2 separate regions of the Homo sapiens genome follow, and region 1 is linked to region 2. The links are contacts of gene promoters, found by promoter capture Hi-C in human tissues and cell types (Jung and others, 2019). All regions are on one chromosome and are shown on one strand. Each heading gives the region's core, a stretch centred on a gene start or on the middle of the fragment in contact. The rest is flanking DNA. Distances are from core to core; before and after follow the strand shown. Region 1 has its middle 12 kb from the start of MIR4454. Region 2 holds the start of TKTL2 (transketolase like 2).

The links. The method cuts DNA at HindIII sites, captures the fragments that hold promoters and counts their contacts. A contact is called where the count stands out against the background at its distance.
Region 1: a contact is called between a fragment that was not itself captured here and the fragment with the promoter of TKTL2 in region 2, in 2 of the 25 tissues and cell types used here (heart left ventricle and lymphoblastoid cells).

Annotation. Positions count from the first base shown.
Region 1 is chr4:163,102,861-163,109,074 of GRCh38, reverse strand. It overlaps a transcript of NAF1 not described here. Among named protein-coding and RNA genes, the nearest start is that of MIR4454, 12 kb to the right of the region's middle. The HindIII fragment of the contact is 4,189 bases long and covers 1-3,359 here.
Region 2 is chr4:163,472,411-163,478,675 of GRCh38, reverse strand. TKTL2 (transketolase like 2) reads left to right here and starts at 4,922. Exons shown (of 1, transcript NM_032136.5): 1 at 4,922-6,265. The coding sequence starts at 4,942. The HindIII fragment of the contact is 4,534 bases long and covers 3,525-6,265 here.

The sequences.
Region 1 (6,214 bases), core at 16-2,515, 370 kb after region 2:
AATATGATAAGTACAGTCAGAAAGTTTTTAATATTTACTCTCAACATACAGTAAAGATTTAGGAAGAGAAAGGACGGAATAGGGAACTCAGTCTTCCTAAGCCTAATTTCATTAAGAAACTTAACAAAGGGAAAAGACACTAAGCCCTTTTCTTGTAAGAAACTCACCTGAAAAGGGAAGGGATCCAAATATGAACAAGAACAGTGACTTAGCACTGGCTTCTCAAGAAGATATGTTTTCGTCTGGTGCATAATGCCTGGCACATAGTAGGCCCACAGAGAGTATTCACTGAATGAGGGAATGCATGATAGAATACATTAGAGAGTGTATTTTTGCCTGTGTTAACTTTAATTGAATACATTTTAAGAATAATATGTTACTCTTTGAAAACCCATATTCTATTAGTTTTATAAAGCATAATGGAAGAAAATATCAGTGAAGCACCATTTATTTTAATTGTAAAGATTTCTTGATTTATCAACCAATATGGAGGACATTTTTGACTAAGTGAAAAAACAGGTTAGTGTAAATCTTAGCAATTATTTCTTTAATCTGTGACTGGCTTTCTCTTATTGAATTCAGTGCTTAACATTTGAATATTATTTTCTTTTCATAATTGAAGTTGGGGAGTAAGAGATGTTCTCCAGGTGTCAACTATTGTTTTAGGAGGCTTCAAAAGAAACATGAGCAAGCTATTGGCTAATGGGCTTGAATTAATGGTTATTGGAAAGTTAAAGATGTACCATATGCCATGATCTAGGTACCTACAGCCATTTCTCTGTTCTTTCTCCATATCCTTGTCTCTCATTCTTCCACAATCCTTCCCTGCCTATAAGCAATTACAGTGAAAAATGCTGGAGTAGAATGACATAAGATCTTTTAAGGTCAAGGGCCAGGTGATTTCAGATACTATGACTTTTCAGAAAGCCCAAATAAGTTATTTCCTTACTTACATCGCTGTTGATATATGCAAATTATGTTGCATGCAGGAAGAAAAAAAAATTTTCTTAATTTCCACACTCTAGCAAGCTAAATGGTTTGAAATATACTTGACAATGTTCTGCAATATTGAAAGTAGTATCTATTTCTGATGTTTCAATTCCTGTATGTCAAACATTATCAAAGAGGGCAATATCGCCCCCAAGGGGATAAAACTTCATTATTGGAAGGTGGAAAGTTCTTATCTTTTTAATGTACAATATTAAGCACAGACATACATACAGTAATTACAGATACAGCATATCTGGGGTATTATAATTTCATAGTGGGGGATTAGGGAAAAAATATCTAAAAAGGCTCCTTGGCAAGCAGGGTGGAGGGGATAACCAAAAAAGCTTAAGAAACACTATTGTACATTGTGCTTTCCATTTATTAAAAAAATCTTATTCTCCCCAGGTTCAGGCTAATGGAACAAATAATAGAGAACTAATAGTCCTATGGGAACCATTTTTTTAAAATAGTCGAGCAATGTAGGACTCTCAGGTAAAAGCTTCTTTACAGACTGTGCTTAGATCTGGGACTGAAGTGAGGTCCATATTGTTTGAATTGTAGTCAAGTCATTCCTACAAGACGATCTAAACCTGAAACAGAAAGAGGGAAAGCTCTGTCCTGGAGAGAAAATTGCACAGCGAGAGCACAGTGTACCTGGACACAGAGTGAAAGAGCAGGCTGAAGGAGCCTGCTGTATCTGAGCACAGGCTGCTCTCAGCAAGTACACATAGAGACTTGCTTTTGGGCCCAATGATCCCCTTTACTAGCAAAATGACGTAAGTAGCAAGAGTCTCAAAGTGCTAGGCACAGTGGCTCATGCCTGTAATCCCAACCCTTTGGGAGGCCAAGGCGGGCGGATCACTTGAAGTCCAGAGCTTAAGACCAGCCTGGCCAACACGGTGAAACCCCGCCTGTACTAAAAGTACAAAAATTAGCCAGGTGTGGTGGCAGGTGCCTGTAATCCCAGCTACTCGGGAGGCTAAGGCAGGAGAATCACTTGAACCCAGGAGGCGGAGGTTGCAGTGAGCCGAGATTGCACCACTGCACTCCAGCCTGGCTGACAGAGCGAGACTCCATCTCAAAAAAAAAAAAGAAAGCCTCAAATTAGCCACTTTTTCTAAGAAAGGTAGGCGTGGAGAAATAACCCTGAAATGTATCATTCTTTGAAAATATGAGAAAAGAATGGAGGATTCTCTCAAATGTGTGGTACTATAAATTGAAGTGAATTTTGTCTACTAGTTTTGCCTAATTTGCCACTGATAAATAGATCTTTATTTTAGATTTCTCTGTATAAGTTAATATTCATCTAACACTCAGGTTTTTTTTCTATATTCTCAGAAAACATACCTCAGAAAACATAAGATTAACTCTTGATTGTTTTTCTGAATTATTTATTAATTAAAATAAATTATTCCATTTTTAGGCTGAAATCTTATTGGATGATTCTGTATTAATATAAGAAACAAGTGGGCAGAGAAAAATACAGAAATAAAAAAATGACTATTTACTATTCATATTATTTCAGTAGTTCTTTTTCACTTTAGTTTTCATTACTATAGAAAATGGAAACGCTAGACTAGTGTTGTCCAATGAAATACCCTGCTGTGATGGACAGGAACTATATAGGCACTTTCTAATATGAAAGTGCTAGCTATTTGGGATTAAGTTCTTGAAGTATAGCAGTGGGACTGAAGTATTAAATTTAAATTTCATTTAATTTTAATTAAATTTAGCATATAGTCACTTGGGGCTAGTGCATTACCATATTGGTCAGTGCAACACTTAGATTCTGAGGATGTTTGGCATACTTTAATTTACAAAATCAAATTCCTTAGTTTGAAATAATGTAATAAGAACACTGGCAAACCATTGTGAGTTTTCCTCACTACACATATTTGGGGCTCCTAGGTTAATATTATGTCTTTGTTTGGGATAACTGTCAATAGTGGTCTCCTGGTTCAAATCCAAATGAGGCCTCCCACAGGTGTGGTTAATGAAAATGCATTGATTAATTGTGTGTTTCTTACACAAAAAAACTAACATCCTTTAAATGATTAGACTAATATTAAAGAATATTGACATGTTTAAATGAAATATGCAACTTAGAACAAAATGTTTAGAAGTAAACATTTTTCAAGATATAATTGGCAACTTGCTCATAATTTTCTTATTCTCAATCATAACTTAAGCCTAATTCTCAGCAGAAGTTGAATTAGAGCTTGCATTCAGTGACAAAACCTAGCAGACAATTATTGAACACTGCAAAAATAAACATGTTTTCCACATCTGCTAAAAGATTTAAGACAGATACAAGCCAGACAAGTCCAAATAATTTACTTATAAAATGCAATATACTTGTTTAACCAAAAGGAAGTATATCAAATTTATTTGAGTTAAATAGGCATTCTATTTTGTAGGGATGAAATTTTGCTTATAATATAATGAAAATGTAATGCACTCTTTATGATCTTAAGAAATTATTTCCAACAGATTTTTATGCAATAATAAAAGACTGTCTTCTAAAGTTTAGAGACAGCATGAGATAGGATATTCATATTAATTGGTTTAATATTAAATAGCTGACGCATTTTTAGTTAAGGGTCACAGATAACAGCTTCAAAAGTGATGTTTCAGCTTGTGATTATTCTATTTGCCTCCAGTTTTTACTTTAGGAACTATTTACAGGTAACATTTATTAAGCATTTTGAACTATACACCAGGCATTGTGTTAAGTGGTAATTCGATAGATGTTATCTTACTTAATGTTTATAATAATGCTATTAGAGCTGTTATTATCTGAATTATATCATGAAGTAAACTGCAGTTCACAGTGATTAACTTACCAAAGCTCACACAGCCAGCAAATTGCAGAGCTGAGATTTGCATCAGGCTCTGCCTTAACCCAGAGCCCATGGCTGATATCTTAACCTCTGCACCAACTGCATCTTAAGAATTTTCCAGCATATAACAATACACACCAGGAACAACAATAGAAACTTCAAACTAATGATTAAATAGTAGAGGGCTGCTGATCCCTTCTTATATACTGCAAGAATAACACTTAATAAAGGATGAAGAAAGATTTGTACTGAGTCTAATAAAGAAAATTTCAACGACTGGTTTTGTTTTGGTTTGGTTTTCTGAAACATAATTTCCCAATGCACAAAAAAGCACTGAGCAAATTGTTGAGTTATGGATATAATTAAGTTAGGTTTCTCTTATGCACAAATAATAGCTTTCCTAGTCATTTATACTAAAAATCACCACGAATTTCACAAGATCTAAGTGATCAACATTGAAAGTGGAAAGATTGCTTTGCCAGGATTCTTATGGAACCTCTTGCTCTGCTGTTACTCAGAAAGTAAAGCGTATCACTTTTATTGCATTGTAAATTGTTCCTTAGTGATCTTTCTGACCGGCTAATTAGTGAGTTCAGTGTCTGGGATGGGTGAGTCTTCTTAAATATAAATATCTATTCTTGATACTTTACTATAGCTGAGTAATTTCAGAAATAAAAACAACATCTTTGGGTGTCCAAGGTTGGTTATATCAGTAAAACTAGAAACAAAATGAGATCATAGGTATGAAATATATCAGAATCCAATATTAACCCAACATTAACCATATTTTTATAGCCATTTTTACAAAGTATCTTTTTTCAGTGAGTATGTATGTTCAAATTTATTGAAAACCTATTTTTATGAATTGCGAAGTACACCAAATATGGCATTAATAGAACTACAGCCTTAACTACATGCTTATTGTCAGGCCTCTGAGCCCAAGCTAAACCATCATAATCCCCTGTGACCTGCATGTATACATCCAGATGGCCTGAAGCAAGTGAAGAATCACAAAAGAAGTGGAAACGGCCGGTTCCTGCCTTAACTGATGACATTGCGCCATTGTGATTTGTTTCTGCCCCACCTTAACTGAGCGATTAACCTTGTGAAATTCCTTCTCCTGGCTCAGAACCTCCCCCACTGAGCACCTTGGGACCCCCACCCCTACCCGCAAGAGAACAACCCCCTTTGACTGTAATTTTCCACTACCCACCCAAATCCTGTAAAACAGCCCCACCCCTATCTCCCTTCTCTGACTCTCTTTTTGGACTCAGTCCGCCTGCACCCTGGTGAAATAAACAGCTTTATTGCTCACACATAGCCTGTTGGGTGGTCTCTTCACACGGACGCGCATGACATTTGGTGTGGAAGCCCGCCTGCACCCAGGTGATTAAAAAGCTTTATTGCTTACACAAAGCCTGTTTGGTGGTCTCTTTACACGGGTGTGCATGACATTTGGTGCCGTGACTCGGATTGGGGGACCTCCCTTGGGAGATCAATCCTTTGCTTCCCTGACTGTTCCTAGGCTACAGCCACACCTCGTTGCCACCCTTTTCCCCAGTTCACAGCCTCCTTCGCATCCTCCCCTTGTATCTCCCCACCTTAATCCACAGGTATGGGAAACCTCTATTCCCTCCTTGGCGACTGATCATGCACCCCTTACCATCCCATTAAAACCTAATCACCCTTACCCTGCTCAATGACAATATCCCATCCCACAGCACACTTTAAAAGGATTAAAGCCTGTTATCACTCCCCTGTTACAGCATGGCCTTTTAAAGCCTATAAACTCTCCTTACAATTCCACCATTTTACCTGTCCAAAAACCAGACAAGTCTTACAAGTTAGTTCAGGATCTGTGCCTTATCAACCAAATTGTTTTGCCTAACCACCCTGTGGTGCCAAACCCATATACTTTCCTATCCCCAATACCTCCCTCCGCAACCCCTCCACAACCCATTATTCTGTTCTGGATCTCAAACATGATTTCTTTACTATTCCTTTGCACCCTTCATCCCAGCCTCTCTTCGCTTTCACTTGGACTGACCCTGACACCCATCAGACTCAGCAATTTACCTGGGCTGTACTTCCGCAAGGCTTCGCAGACAGCCCCCATTGCTTCAGTCAAGCCCAAATTTCTTCCTCATCCATTACCTATCTTGGCATAATTCTTGATGAAAACACGTGCTCTCCCTGCCAATTGTGTCCAATTGATCTCTCAAACCCCAACCCCTTCTACAAAACAACTCCTTTCCTTCCTGGGCATGGTTGGATACTTTGACCTTTGGATACCTGGTTTTGCCATCCTTACAAAACCATTATATAAACTCACACACACACAAAAAACCTAGCTGACCCCATAAATCCTAAATCCTTTCCCCACT
Region 2 (6,265 bases), core at 3,673-6,172:
TTAATTTCTTTTAGGTTTACAGGAAAAGTGGCTAATAATTGATCTACAGCGCCTGGCCTTATCCTTAGGCTTTTGGCTGCTATAGCTCCAACACATCCTCTGGTGGTGGTGGTAGAGGGGTTGAAAAGAATGGCTGGGCGTGGTGTCTCATGCCTGTAATCCCAGCGCTTTGGGAGGCGGAGGTGGGCGGATCACCTGAGGTCAGGAGTTCAAGACCAGCCTAGTCAACATGGTGAAACACTGTCTCTACTAAATGACAGAGCAACAAGAGCAAAACTCCATCCCAAAAAAAAAAAAAAAAGAAGAGATCACAGTTCTTCTTGTACTCTCTCCTGTTTACCAGGAAGAAAATCTTTAATAGAAATTATTACCAGCTGGGAGACCAGGCAGGAGGATCACTTGAGGCCAGGAGTTCAAAACCAGCCTGAGAAACATAGCAATACCCCATCTCTAAAAGAAAGAAACGATGAGAATTATTACACCCAAAGCAGACTTTTACTTACATCTTATTGACCAGAACTGGGTCAATAAGTGCTGACTGCCATTACTAGCCAAAGGGAATGGCATTGTGATGCTGGTCCTACATTAATTATGATTTTCTCCTGGGACTAGGAGCTGGGCCAAGTTTCTTAAATTTGTTGCCACCTCTCTCTTCTGCCCCTTCTCTCTCCACCGCAAAATAAGGACTTGTAACTGTGGAAAAAGTGGGATAGCATCCTACAGATGCATCATAATAGCATCTGTTAAAATTTTCAAAGCAATAATCCAGGAAGATAAAGTACATTTTTCTTTCCAGGAGACTTATTGCCTTACACAAGAATCTTATTCTCATTTGCTCCATACTTTAGCTTCCAAAGCCAACCAAATTTAAACAGTGGAAGCAAAAGATGAATTCAGCATTTATGTATTTTATATAATTCCATTTTAACAAAACTTAACAGTTTAAATAAGATTTAAGTAAAATTTCAGCGTTCCCAACTCCTAAATATCACTCACCCTCACATGGCAAAATATCTATTTTCACAAATCAGTGTAGACCTACTCAGTAATCGGTAATTGTGTGTTCTGTTTTCTCTGCTGCAGCTCAGTAGAAATTACACTTATCAATTGCTACTATTTAAGTTTTTCCCTCATAGCTACTTGTATTGGTAATCCTGTTAGATTTTGTTTTCATGTGAAGTACACGCTATAATGAATACTTTTAGATACTATGAGAAAAAATTAAGTGAAAAATTTAAGCAAAGTTAAAACAAAAATTATTGCTGCTTTTAAATAGACTTTAAATTGGGGTCAAAAGTGGCAGCCTGAAGGTATATTTTATTTTTCCAACAAAATGTTTATAAGTTTTTCAATTTTGAATGCCTTTAAGTGGTCTTGTATTCTCCAGTTTAACACAGGCCCCTCTAACCCTCTTATAGCTGACATCCAAGCACTCGTGGTAACTCCTTATCCCAGTAGGCACTTGAATTTGCCAATCTCTGCTTTGTCTGGATAAACCAAGATTAATAATAAATGAATAATGTTTTCCTATTTGCAGAACATTTTTGACTGGCTTCCAAAATGATCTCTAAAATGAATAATGAACTTTTCTCCAAGACAACTACATTTTTGGCGTGCTGGTTTAAAAGTTTTTGGCTGACATTTTGTCAGCCAAATAGGGTTTGGCTCCCCTATTTTGTCTTCTAAATAGGGGAGAAGGTGGTATCACGTCTTTGTTTGATTTATTTGACGAAGTTGTGTTCCCAGCCATATTGGGTAATTTTGCATTATGAAATTGTGCATACTTTAAACAAGTTGAGTATTCTTTAGTTGAAATTATTTGCTTGAGACCAGAAGTGTTTTGGATTTCAATTAAAAAAAAATTTGGAATATCTGCATTATACTTAACAACGGAACATTCCAAATCAGAAAAATCCCAAATCCAAAATGTCCTTTGAGCAGTTCCCCTGAGTAACATGTCAGTGCTCAAAATGTTTCAGATTTTGGAGCATTGGAAACATCAGATTTTCAAATTTGGGATGCTCTACCTGTATTTATATATTTTCAATTGTATATTTTAAAATATATTTCAAATTTAAAAGACTAAAATGCTTAAAGAAAATAATTAACAGCTTATATATGTTATTTATATAACATATTAATATAAAATTAATTTTATATAAACTTAATATATATTACATATATTGATATGAGTTTTTATATATAATATATATACTTTTATATATAGTATATCTTTCCAGATATTTTACTATATATATACTTTTATATATTTATATATATATATATATATATATCTTTCCAGAGTTCCTTTTACAAAATCTCAGAATGGTTTATAAGTATTTTACACATAATTTATAAAATATTATTTTCTATATAGTATAAAAAATTCACACGGTCTCACAGAATGATAGAGGGAAATTCACACTCACTATCTAGGGTATTAAATCTCCAAGACTACATTCTTCTCTTAATAAAATTGACCTTTGCTAATGTTAAAATTTTTTTATTTAATACTTTAGGAAATAGCTGTGCAATGTTTTAAATGAGTGAAAGAATGTGGGAACTTGGAAAGAAATGTTAAGAAGTCCCATGTTTTTATTCATGGGAACATTGCCTCATAAATCATTTTTGTACTATCATGTTTACTAATTGTGTGGATTTATTAGAGTTCTTTTTGGCCAAAATAATGGTGAGCTACCTGTGTTTATATTAACTACTTTCCTGTCAGCCTGTAGTAGTTTGCTATTATTTTACTGTGATTATTATTTTTTCTCTAATTCCCATCTTCTGTACTACCAGTTCTAGCCTAGTCTGCTTGTATTTCCTCCTCCTTTATTTGTCTAAAAAGATAAACAAGCTTTAATTTGCAAAGGACATGGAGAGTTATGGATACATGATGACCTCTTAAGAACTTCTCCAATGCCAACATTCCTGCAACAAGTCTTAAAATCAGTAGTGTCATATTATTACTATTTATTCTAATATGTGTCCTTAAAAGTTAAAATGATAGAACTAGTTGAAATAGCAAATAACATTTGAAATATTTTTCTGAGATATAATGCAAGAGATAATAAGTATAAAGAGTAACAACACCCCCTGAGTTAGTTGTTTACAACCCTGACTGAACATTGAAATTGCCTGGGGAAGATTTTAAAATTACTGACGCCTAGATCTATTGCCTAGAAATTCTGATATAATTGGTCTGGAGTGCAGCATGGACATGAGATGTTTTTAAAACTTCCCAGATAATTCTAAACTACAACTAATGTTGAGAACCACTGGTCTCAGACTATCTCCAGATTATGTTATTAACCTTGACTACCCATTATAATCAATGGATGTATTTTAGAAACATAGCTTCCCAGACTCCAGGTCCAGAAATTCAAATTCTATTTTTCTGGGATGGAACCAGGCATTGTGTTTCTTATGTGCCCTAATTTTAACGTGAAGTTAAGGTAAGAATTATTGCTCAAGAAACCAAGAGGTTTAACATCGCAATATGGGAAGGTATGATATATTATCATTGTGTTTTTTTTAATTGTTGTTTTATTGATGACAAACCATAACCTTGGCCTGCTAGAAGAGTTCAATGGCACAAATTTAGTTTTTTTTGTTTTAGACGGAGTCTCGCTCTGTCTCCCAGGCTGGAGTGCAGTGGCACAATCTGGGCTCACTGCAAGCTCCACCTCCCAGGTTCACGCCATTCTCCTGCCTCAGCCTCCCGAGTAGCTGGGACTACAGGTGCCCATCACCACGCCCAGCTAATTTTTTTGTATTTTTAGTAGACACGGGGTTTCACCGTGTTAGCCAGGATGGTCTCGAACTCCTGACCTTGTGATCCGCCTGCCTCGGCCTCCCAAAGTGCTGGGATTACAGGTGTGAGCCACAGCACCCGGCCCACAAATTTAGTTTTTTAAAGTAAGTAACTTTGTCTTAAAAATGATTTGTAGTAATAGTCATTAAAAGATAAACTGAGGCACATTAAAATATTAAAGCATTTATTTGACCATTCAGTGATTCATGAATCTGGTAGCTCCTGATAAAGGAGCCAAGGAGAAGGCTTTTATAGGGTGAATTTGGAAGCAAAGGAAAGATATTTGATTGGTTAAAGTGGAGTACTAGACTTATTTGGGTCATCCCAGTGGAAAGTCCCCAGTTAGAAGTTAGCTGGCAGTTTCTGATTGATTAAGCTTAAATTTCCTTTTTATCATTTACACTGATTTGGGTTTCCTTTCCTTAGGTAGGAACTCATGGAGCTGAAGCTACCTCAGCCTACTGGCCTTCTAATTATTTCAACACAGAAATAGTACTTTACGGCACACTGGAGTTGCAATTCTATTCTGCAATTGGGTGGTTTCAGATTTGTTCTTCCTATAAATTTTGGTCAAATTAGTCATTGCATTTCTTTCTATAAGTCTGAGATTCAGATATTTGGTTGCTCTGAGAAAGTCTCTGTTGAGATAGCATTGCCATACTGGTCAGATTGAAAGTGACTTTGTATCCTTTCTATTAATGTTCTGATATGAAAGAGTGATGACTCGGATATAGTGTTAATGCATTAAAAAAGCACAGCCTGACAAATCGCTTCCTATAATACACAGAAAAATGTCTAGTCTTGAATTTATAACACAGGGAAAGGTAAAAAATTTAATTATGCTTCCTAATGTTGAACATGCACGTGACAAAGTAAATACTAAAAATCCATTCAGCTGGGCGTGGACAGGGAGAGGGAACGGTGCACATCAGAGGGTGCAGGCTACTCCAACGTTTCCGTTTCCTCAGTCTCGCGGGAAGCTCCGTTGTGGGCGCCCCGGCTGGTGGCTGAGCTCAGGCCTTCAGGCAGAGGGGAGGCGAGGGCGGGGCGGTCACGTGAGAGCACTGCCGCGGTGGGTTGTGGGGGTGCTGCGGCGCCGTTTGCTTTGCCAAACCGACAAAAGAGAGATGATGGCCAACGACGCCAAGCCCGACGTGAAGACCGTGCAGGTGCTGCGGGACACAGCCAACCGCCTGCGGATCCATTCCATCAGGGCCACGTGTGCCTCTGGTTCTGGCCAGCTCACGTCGTGCTGCAGTGCAGCGGAGGTCGTGTCTGTCCTCTTCTTCCACACGATGAAGTATAAACAGACAGACCCAGAACACCCGGACAACGACCGGTTCATCCTCTCCAGGGGACATGCTGCTCCTATCCTCTATGCTGCTTGGGTGGAGGTGGGTGACATCAGTGAATCTGACTTGCTGAACCTGAGGAAACTTCACAGCGACTTGGAGAGACACCCTACCCCCCGATTGCCGTTTGTTGACGTGGCAACAGGGTCCCTAGGTCAGGGATTAGGTACTGCATGTGGAATGGCTTATACTGGCAAGTACCTTGACAAGGCCAGCTACCGGGTGTTCTGCCTTATGGGAGATGGCGAATCCTCAGAAGGCTCTGTGTGGGAGGCTTTTGCTTTTGCCTCCCACTACAACTTGGACAATCTCGTGGCGGTCTTCGACGTGAACCGCTTGGGACAAAGTGGCCCTGCACCCCTTGAGCATGGCGCAGACATCTACCAGAATTGCTGTGAAGCCTTTGGATGGAATACTTACTTAGTGGATGGCCATGATGTGGAGGCCTTGTGCCAAGCATTTTGGCAAGCAAGTCAAGTGAAGAACAAGCCTACTGCTATAGTTGCCAAGACCTTCAAAGGTCGGGGTATTCCAAATATTGAGGATGCAGAAAATTGGCATGGAAAGCCAGTGCCAAAAGAAAGAGCAGATGCAATTGTCAAATTAATTGAGAGTCAGATACAGACCAATGAGAATCTCATACCAAAATCGCCTGTGGAAGACTCACCTCAAATAAGCATCACAGATATAAAAATGACCTCCCCACCTGCTTACAAAGTTGGTGACAAGATAGCTACTCAGAAAACATATGGTTTGGCTCTGGCTAAACTGGGCCGTGCAAATGAAAGAGTTATTGTTCTGAGTGGTGACACGATGAACTCCACCTTTTCTGAGATATTCAGGAAAGAACACCCTGAGCGTTTCATAGAGTGTATTATTGCTGAACAAAACATGGTAAGTGTGGCACTAGGCTGTGCTACACGTGGTCGAACCATTGCTTTTGCTGGTGCTTTTGCTGCCTTTTTTACTAGAGCATTCGATCAGCTCCGAATGGGAGCCATTTCTCAAGCCAATATCAACCTTATTGGTTCCCACTGTGGGGTATCCACTGGAGAAGATGGAGTCTCCCAGATGGCCCTGGAGGATCTAGCCATGTTCC